Regions from separate parts of the Homo sapiens genome. Here region 1 is linked to region 2. The links are contacts of gene promoters, found by promoter capture Hi-C in blood cells and fetal thymus (Javierre and others, 2016). All regions are on one chromosome and are shown on one strand. The core of a region is centred on a gene start or on the middle of the fragment in contact, and the rest is flanking DNA. Distances in the headings are between cores, read along the strand shown.

Region 1 (4,605 bases), core at 163-2,662, 1.3 Mb after region 2:
TGAGGGTTCAGTAGAACTTGCAGAATCAGGATCTGTTCTCATGGTTCTTCATGAGCTGTCATTCTGTCCCTTTCTCACATGCAGATCCACTACCCTCACCCCACCTCTTTTTCCGTTTTGGCAAAATTATCAGATTTGTTTATACTCCACTCTTTCCAGAAATGACTCAAGACAGCTTTTTAAATTCTAAAATGTACCTACTAATATATAAAAATAGAAATTTACACAAAAGACACTTTGTAAGATGGTTATCCCTTTTACAAAAGAAGTAGCCATCATTTCTTTAAGTAGCAGCACGTCTGGTACATGCAATGTCAGACCTGATAGACCAAATTTTGCCTCATCAGCAGCTTTCTGGAATGTGTCTTCAGTATCAGTGTGGTTCACAGCATTACTCCCCATTATCACCTTCACAGGAGTCAGCTGATTTTCAGCAAGTCTGGGACTTGAACAAAGGCAAAGGGTGTGTGAAGCCTTTGAATTTATTTTGTGCAGAGCTAGGTGATTGAATGGGATCTGCTCTAGAAAGCACCAAGCTGCCACTTGGTCAGGGAACCCTGCTTGGGAGAGGTGGCAGAGGAGGTTTTCAGAAAAACAAGGGAGGATGCCTATTAGCTTATGTGGACTGGGAGACCACCCAGGGGAAGGGAGCAGTGTAGGGGAAATGCCGGGCTGCTGTGCTCCCTGTGGGGCAGTGGCAGAGGTGGCAAGCCAGCTTGGGACCTCAGATTGCGCCACAGAAGAGAGGAGAGCTGCCTGGTGACAGTTCACCTGTCCTACCCCTAGAAGAAAATTTTGGCTTGACACAGAGATAAGATGTGAAACATTCTCTCTTTGCTATATCCATATATTTCAGGACTTAGCAATCATGCCCTATGCTATAGTGAATATGTCCCAATGCATTATTTAACACATTTCTTTTTAACAAAAAGCATGTGTTGGGAACTTAATCCCTAATGCAACAGCGTTGGGGGGCAGGGCCTACTAGGAGGTGTTTAGGTCATGATGGCTCCACCCCATAATGGATTAATGCTGATTATGAAAGGGCTTCAGTCTGTGAGTTTGATCTCTTGCTCATGTGTGCTGTCTTGTCCTTCCACCTTCCACTATGGGATGACACAGCAAGAAGGTCCTTGCAAGATGTGGGCCCCTATACCTTAGACTTTCAGCCTCCAGAAAGGTAAGAAATACATATCTTCTCTTTATAAATTACCCAGTCTCAGGTATTCTGTTATAGAAGCACAAAATGGACTAAGACAACCTTTCAGTGGGCATGTTGCTGTGGCAACCTTAAAGTCACTGGAGGGCATCTATAATTGGCAGAAAATGGTATGAATTTAGTTACAGGTTTGTTTTTTTTTTTTCTGGGAGGAGTTTTTTAGTCTTAGGCTACTTAAAGTACTCACATGTGATCTTTTTGCCTGAGCAGACTAATAATCACCTCGCAATTTAATTACTAAGCCAGTACCAGTGAACTCTTCTCCTATCAATTGAGTTGTAATTTTTGAATACCAGCTTCTTGGACAGGGCCCATCTCTGGAAGCTGTGGTTACCCAGACACAAATCACAACCAGTGTTATGCTTTGTGAAACCAGTCGACTGTGGAGTCAGCTGGAGGGATCATTGACAAATGCAAGCATGTTCTGAGTGGCTCATCTGTCAGCTATGACAGGCATTCAGTTCTGCTAAAGAGCATTCTGGGTTGGCCACACTGTCACTTCTCCATTCCCTACAATCTTCTACCACTGGATGTGTTCCCATTTCCTAGGTATAGAAAACTCCTAATCATGGTGGTTATTTTATAATTTTAAAATAGTAAAAATCTTTTTATTAAAAAAAATGGTAAAATACACATGACATAAAATGTACCATCTTAAACATTTAATTGTATGCTTACTGCACACTTAAAATTGGCATTAGTAAATTCACACTGTTATGCTTCCATCACTAGCATTAATCAACAAAACTCTTCATCTTGCAAAACTAAAACTATGTGCTCACCAAAACACAATTCTCCATTCTCTTCTGTCGCCAGCTCCTAGAAACCACTAGTCTACATTTTGTTAATATGAATTTGGCTAATCTAAGTGCCTCATGTAAGTGGAATCATACAGTATTTGTCCTTTTGTGACTGGCTTACATCACTTAGCATAATGCCCTCAAGGTTATTCCCTGTTGTAGCACGTGTCAGAATTTCATTTCTTTTTAAGGCTGAATAATATTCCATTGCATGTATATACCACGTTTTGATTACCCACTTGTGCATGGATGGACACTTGGGTCACTTCCACTTTTTGACTGTTGTGAATCATGCTGTTACAAACGTGGGTCTACAAATACCCCTTTGAGTCCTCGCTTTCATTTCTTTTGAATATATACCCAGAAGGGAAATTGCTGGATTATATGGTAATTCTACTTTTAGTTTTTTGAGGAACTACCATACTGTTTTCCATAGTGGCTACACCATCTTACATTCCCACAACAGTGCACGAGTGTTCCAATTGCTCTGCTTCCTTGCCAATACTTGTTATTTTCCATTTATTTGTTTGCTTGTTTTGGATAGTGGCCATTCTAATGGGTGTGATGCAGTCATAGTTATTTTTTTAAGGGGAGGGCTTGTCTAACCTGAACGTTTAATGATAATACGACTTCGAAAAGCAATTATAATAGCTGACATTAATTGAACACATAACATAGACACTCTATGTTGCCACATTTGATCCTCAAGTCAACCCCATGAGTAATGTGCCATCATCATTCTCATTTTACAGATGAATAAACTGAGACCCAGAGAGTTTATATAATTTGTGATTTGTCCAAGGTCACACAACCAGGTAATCATTCTGTACCATTGAATGTAGACACTGAGGAAGCTATAGGATTCCTCAGCACAGAACAAGACCTGCTTATTGGTGGATAAGACAACCTCTAGTAAGGCAGCTCTTTTCATGTATTTCTAAAATTTGGTGCCTTTCCTGGTGATGACAACAAACAACATTGAAGACAATGATGATGATGATGTTAAAAAAAGAAAAGAGGAATTGAATATAAGCAAACATTCAGCTCTAATCTCCATATGTAAAAAAAACCCTGAAATCCCCATTATTTGAACATTACATATTCATAGAGAACTAAATTAGAGGGTGATTATTCATATAATGGAATTATTTGCCTTATAGAAGGATTCACTGCATTATCCTCTGCTGTGACAAGCTTTCCCAGTTCATTTAAAATAGGAATTAATTTATAACAATGTGATGTATATATAGTTTTCCCCCAGAACACATCTACTGCTCAGCATGAAGCCAAATCAAGTCGCTAAAATGATTTTGATTACTGGATAATGATAATGGGGAATATTTGCTCACTTCAGCATTTGAGGATTCCAACTAGGACAGGATTTGTAGACCCAACTGTCAAACCACTATCCTTAATCTTGGTGGAATTATGAAGACCAGAAAAATGCCAAAAGACAGCGGGAACAGATCATTAAACAAAAAGTTTGCAAGCACTTACGAAGAAGTAATCATGTGGAGACTCCTTAACAGGACCTAAATAAAAAGACAAGCCAATCTTTTCTTATCATCATAATGTTAATAGAAAATTAGAACACAGTCATATCTTTGTTATATATCTGACAATCTTGTCTGACCTCATGAAAAAAAGTAATGCTGATGGGTAAGAACGCATGACTAGATCAGCAGTTACTTCTGACTTTTTAGTGTGTTGGTGTAAGATTTCTGTCCAGCTAATCAGCACTCAGTAACACATTCCCACCCTATCAATTAGGAATTGCATTCAGCTGCTAATAACAGAGATACAAATTACAGCGGCTTAAGGAAGATTTCTCTCCACATTAAGAAAAATGGTACGGCCACTTTGGAAGACAGTTTGGCAGCTTCTTACAGAACTAAACACACTCTTATCATACAATCTAGCAGTAGCTCTCCTTGGTACTCACCCAAATGAGTTGAAAACTTATGTCCACACAAAAACCTACACATAAATGTTTATAGCAGCTTTATTCATAATTGCCAAAGCTTGGAAACAACCAAGATGTCTTTCAATAGGTGAGTGGATAAACAAACTGTGGGACATTCAGACAACGGAAAATTATTTAGCGATGAAAAGAAATGAGTTATCAAGCTACAAAAAGACATGGAAGAATCTGAAATGCATGTTGCTAAGCAAAAGAAGCTAGTCTGAAAAGGCTACATACTGTACGATTCCAACTATATGACACTATGGAAAAGGCAGGGACAGTAAAAAGATCAGTGGTTGCCAGGGATTAGCAGGGAGAGAGGGATGAATAGGCAGAGGATTGTTAGGCAGTGACACTACTCTGTACAATACTATAATCGTGGATAAAAGTCATCATGCCTTCATCAAAACCCATAGAATCTACGCAAGAGTGAACCCTAAGGGAAACTGTGGATTTTAGTTCACAATAACATAACAATATTTGCTCATCAACTGTAATAAATGCACCACACTCATTCATGATGTCAATACTAGGGGAAACGGTGGGGGTGGTGTCGGGGATTTGGGAAGTCTGTACTCTCTGCTCAATTTTTCTATAAACCTGAAACTGCTCATAAGTTTTAA
Region 2 (4,507 bases), core at 1,050-3,549:
TTAATTAAGGATCTCATACAATATGTGTCACATATCTAGTCTCCTTTAATGTGATACTATTCCTATTTTAGCCATTTTTTGTTTTTCACCACACTGATGTTTTTAAAGAGTTCAGGTCAGTTGTTCTGTGGAATGTACCTCCATGTGGATTTGTCTCATTGTTTCCTTATAATTAGATTCAGGCCAGATGTTTTCAGCAGAAATTCTACGCAAGTGAGATTGTGTTGTCGCTGTAGCAAGGGGAGCGCATGACGTCAGTCTGTCCCTTTATTGGTGATGGGACACCATTACTTCATAATTTGGTGAAGTAATACCCGCAAGATTTATCCATTGTAAAGGTACCCTTTCCTCTTCATGAGACTTGGAGACTATGTCAATATTCTCTCATATATTTACGTGTTTTAATATATGTAAACCTTTCACTGAATGGTGTTAGAATCCACTCATTAGTGACATTTCCAATTAGAGAAAACACAGTACATCTATAAAGACCTACTGATGGTGATCTGCAGTGGGAAGTTGTGATACTTAACCTTTCTTAAATATGTAGAGGCAAACTGAATAGAAAACTGTGTACAAAAATGAACACTCTATACATGAGCATTTTTTTTTTTTTTTTTTTTGAGACGGAGTCTTGCTCTGTCACCCAGGCTGGAGTGCAGTGGCACGATCTCGGCTCACTGCAAGCTCCGCCTCCCAGGTTCACACCATTCTCCTGCCTCAGCCTCCCCAGCAGCTGGGACTACAGGCGCCCGCCACCACGCCCAGCTAATTTTTTTGTATTTTTAGTAGAGATGAGGTTTCACCGTGTTAGCCAGGATGGTCTCGATCTCCTGACCTCGTGATCCGCCCACCTCGGCCTCCCAAAGTGCTGGGATTACAGGCGTGAGCCACGGCGCCCGGCCTATACATGAGCATTTGTGAAGCTTGTCTAAGATTTGTACATTTGATTGCGTGGATATTTTGCCTTAAAAAGAACTGTAAATGAATAATGTGTGCTGATGTGTTCATGGGTGTAGAGTACTAAGGTCTGCATTAAAAAGATAAGATGGTTTGATGGAAGAACAGGTGGATAGCAATATAGCAAAATGTTAACAATTGGGTCGATATGTGTCCACTGTACAAGTCTTCCCACTTTTCTGTAAGTTTGTAAGTTTTCATAATACAAATTTGGATTTAAAAACACCCCAACATTGCAAGAGTGTCACCAAAGTGTTTGAAAAGCAGGATTCTAGGGGGGGCATTCGCTGACGACTCAGAGAAACCGTCCATGCCACCCACCACCCCTACGCACTCAAAAGAAGCCCTCGCTAGGCAGCCCGGCCCTCCGAGCCCTGGTATCGAGGGGCTCTCCGCCTCTCCCCTGCCGCGGCCGCCTCCTGCTTGCCCGGCCTCAGTCTGTTCTCAGAACATACTCCATCACCTGGTTCCCAGAACTCAGATTGCGCAGTGGTCTCGTCATCATCGGCCAGGACTCACAGTGCCCGCGGCAGAGGCCTCCCTAGACCTCCCTCCCGTCCAGCCTCACCCGCTGCCTACTCTCCTCACGCCCCTGCTCCAGGTCCCCTGGCCCCATTTCGCTCGCCACGTTTTCATAATCCTCTCAGGCTCCGGGCAAGCGGCGCCGCCCGCAATGGGACCTGATCATATAAGGAAAATACTGCGGGCTCATCCGGGGGCTGCAATGGGGACCCGAAAGCGCCCTAGCCTACTACAATCACCGCACCCCAACTGCCGCCCACCTCTCTGCCCTGCCCCCAGTACAGTACCCAAAACCGGTCCGGGTCCAGCTCGGCGGCCCAAGCCTCTGCCCAGCGGACTGCGCACCCGCCCGCCCCAGCCAATCCCGCCGCCGCCGCCGCGCCCCGCCCACAGGACGTTCGGTCCCGCCCCCAGCTGGCGGCCGCGGCCGCCCGCGCGCCAAGTTCCTCAGCCCTTGGCTCCTGCCCAGTGTTTAGGGTGTTGGCGGAGACAAAGGGGAAGAGTCATCGCCTGTCGGGGCTAGGATATGATGGGTGAGAGGTGTCAAACCAAATTCTCTCGGTTTGGAAACGGAGAAAATCTAAAAATGAGGATGTGAGGAAAGAGTCCGCTCTCAAGGCGCGTTGTGGTCTATCCGAGCCCCGTCCCCTGGGCTCCCTCGGGCTGGGGTGAGGCGGGCAGCGCTACGCGTGGGGTAGGACCATCTTACGCTGGGACCCCGCCAAGGAGCCCCAGGAAGTAGGTGAAAGGGCAGGGGCGTGGCTCTCGGGGCGCCACCCACGCTCTTGAAATCTGGGTGATTGCGAGCGGCCGCTCAGCGTCCCCCACACCACAGACCCGCGCCGCCGACGACCCAGCAGCCGCCATGGCTCTGCTCCGAGGTGAGCGCAGCCCCCTCCTCCTCTCCTCGCCCCTCGGGGTCCTGCCCTCCCCAGGCCAGGCCTCCGCTTCCGGCCGCCGCGGAGAGTCGGGGTCGTGGGGTGAAGTTCACTCAACCTCCTCGGTTTTGGAGCGGACGTGATAAAAACCCAGCCCGAAAGGCTTGTTTGGGTTAAGGAGAAAACCCTTACTTGTAAGGCGCTAGCGACAGCGATTTCGGTGCAATTTCCTGTTTAGTTGAGACCAAAGTTTGCTTGCATGTGACCTTGGAGGTCATTCCTTTCTTCGCCTAACAGTGACCCCACTAGTTCGAGTCCAAGTATTAGAAAAAATGGGGCGGCGCCATAGGCCGCGGGCGCCTGCTGCGGGGCAGCTGCGCACAGGAGCCCGCCGCTCGGCCTCGGTGGTCAGGGCTCCCCGGGTGAATCGATGGAGAGGCCTGCAGAAATGGTAGCTGGTGTTCTGCTGGAAGACCTGCCCTGCTCCCATTTCCCTTCTGTTGCTTTAGATTAGAGCGGTCACTCTATACCTAAGTTCTAGGGTTATGAACTTGTTTAAAACAACTGTGTAATAAACTCCCTTTTCAAAACAAGTGGGCACAGTCAATGGAATCTTACTTTAAGGATGTACGAGTCGAAGAACATTGAGGTGGAATACATATCGAGGCCCTGAGACAGGAAAAAGCTTGGCAGGATCTAAGAACCAAGCATTTTGGTGCTCCAGGGCCCTGTGGGCTCTGTAAGAAGGTGGGGTTTTGTTCCAAATTCAGTGGAAGGCAATACAGGGATTTAAAGCGGGGTAATGACAGGATCTGATTTCCACTCTGTCCGAATTTGGGGCGGTCTGTGTAATGGCGAAGAGACCATTTAAGGATCTATTGTAGAGGTCCAGGGAGCAGCAAATGATGGCTTTGACTCGTGTGGGGCAGTGTAATTGGGGAGAAAAGGGGAGGGATGAGTTGAGATAGATTTGGAGGTGGATTTGATAGAAAGTGGATTGGATGTGGTGGAGTAAATATAAGAAGGAAATGTCGAGAATGATGAAAAGTGTCTGGTTTGATGAACCGTGTTCATGATGATGCCACTTTACAGAGTGAGGAAAATTGGGAAAGGAATAGATGTGGAAAGAAGGATTGAGAATTCAGTTTTAGGCAGAAAACTTTTTGGTGCCTGTGAAGCAGCCAAGTGGAGATGCCAGCTAAGCATTGGTTAGGGGGATCTGAAAGTGAGAAGAACCAAAGTGGCATGGGAACAAATCAAGGGAAAAATCCGTATTCTGGGACCAAATGCAGTGTTTACAGTTTCCTGCAACGTGGATTTCATTTGCCAGTGCCCTTCCTGACTGAATTTACTACATTTACTTCATAAAGCAGCGTGGTGAATTTTTTTTAGACGAGGCATTTACACTTCATTTAAAAGGTGCATTGTCATGAGCTATCTTCTAAAAAAGGAAATAATATTTTTACTGATATCATTTTAATATTTTATCAGTGGTTCTTACCCTTTCTTATAATACAGACCTGTTTGAAAATTTCACAAATACTATAAACCCAAAAAGGAAAAAAATGCACATTGACACCTGTATTAAGGAAGTATAAAGTTTATAAATTTCTGGTACAATTTACTGTAGTGTTAGAGCTAGTGATCGTATTTTTTTCCATTTCCTTATTGTAGCAATTAGGAGGACACTCATGTCGAGAGAGGTAAAGTGGTTGTGTATAATAACACAGGTAGTTAGTGGCTGTGACTAGAACCCAAGCTTTGAGCTTGAAATAGTGATGTTACAGGCCAGCTAGAATCATTAAAGATAAACTTCTCTCAAGCAGCATACCAAGTGTTTGCAGGATGGGTGGGAAGAAAGAAGAGCATGTGACTGATTATAGGGAAAAGGACACATTTGAGTTAAATTTTGTTAAGGATTAACATTAATTTGTCAGATTTCAGTCAACAAGAAGAACCGGCTCCTAGGTTTTTATTAGCACCCATCCCAGTACTTGGCAGGAGGTTTTCGCTCGACAGATCATAGCTCTCCTACTGCTCCTAGCTTTGTTGGGAATGTTTGTGTATTTTTTCAAGGCAAGTAGACAGGGCTGCTAAATTACCTTAATCTTGAAACAACTGGATGCCACCGCAGCTTTCCTTAATTT

The links. The method cuts DNA at HindIII sites, captures the fragments that hold promoters and counts their contacts. A CHiCAGO score of 5 or more calls a contact.
Region 1: a contact is called between a fragment that was not itself captured here and the fragment with the promoter of ACAA2 in region 2, in 1 of 17 cell types (monocytes). The highest score is 5.1, in monocytes.

What each region holds. Positions count from the first base shown.
Region 1 is chr18:48,527,004-48,531,608 of GRCh38, reverse strand. No RefSeq gene overlaps it. Among named protein-coding and RNA genes, the nearest start is that of CTIF, 9.7 kb to the left of the region's middle. The HindIII fragment of the contact is 3,607 bases long and covers 1-3,215 here.
Region 2 is chr18:49,811,325-49,815,831 of GRCh38, reverse strand. It overlaps ACAA2 (acetyl-CoA acyltransferase 2), which reads left to right and starts at 2,299. Exons shown (of 10, transcript NM_006111.3): 1 at 2,299-2,363. The coding sequence starts at 2,348. It overlaps SNHG22 (small nucleolar RNA host gene 22), which reads right to left and starts at 1,809. Exons shown (of 4, transcript NR_117096.1): 1 at 1,770-1,809. It also overlaps SCARNA17. RefSeq lists silencers at 1,787-1,956, 2,199-2,493, 2,387-2,506. The HindIII fragment of the contact is 2,119 bases long and covers 929-3,047 here.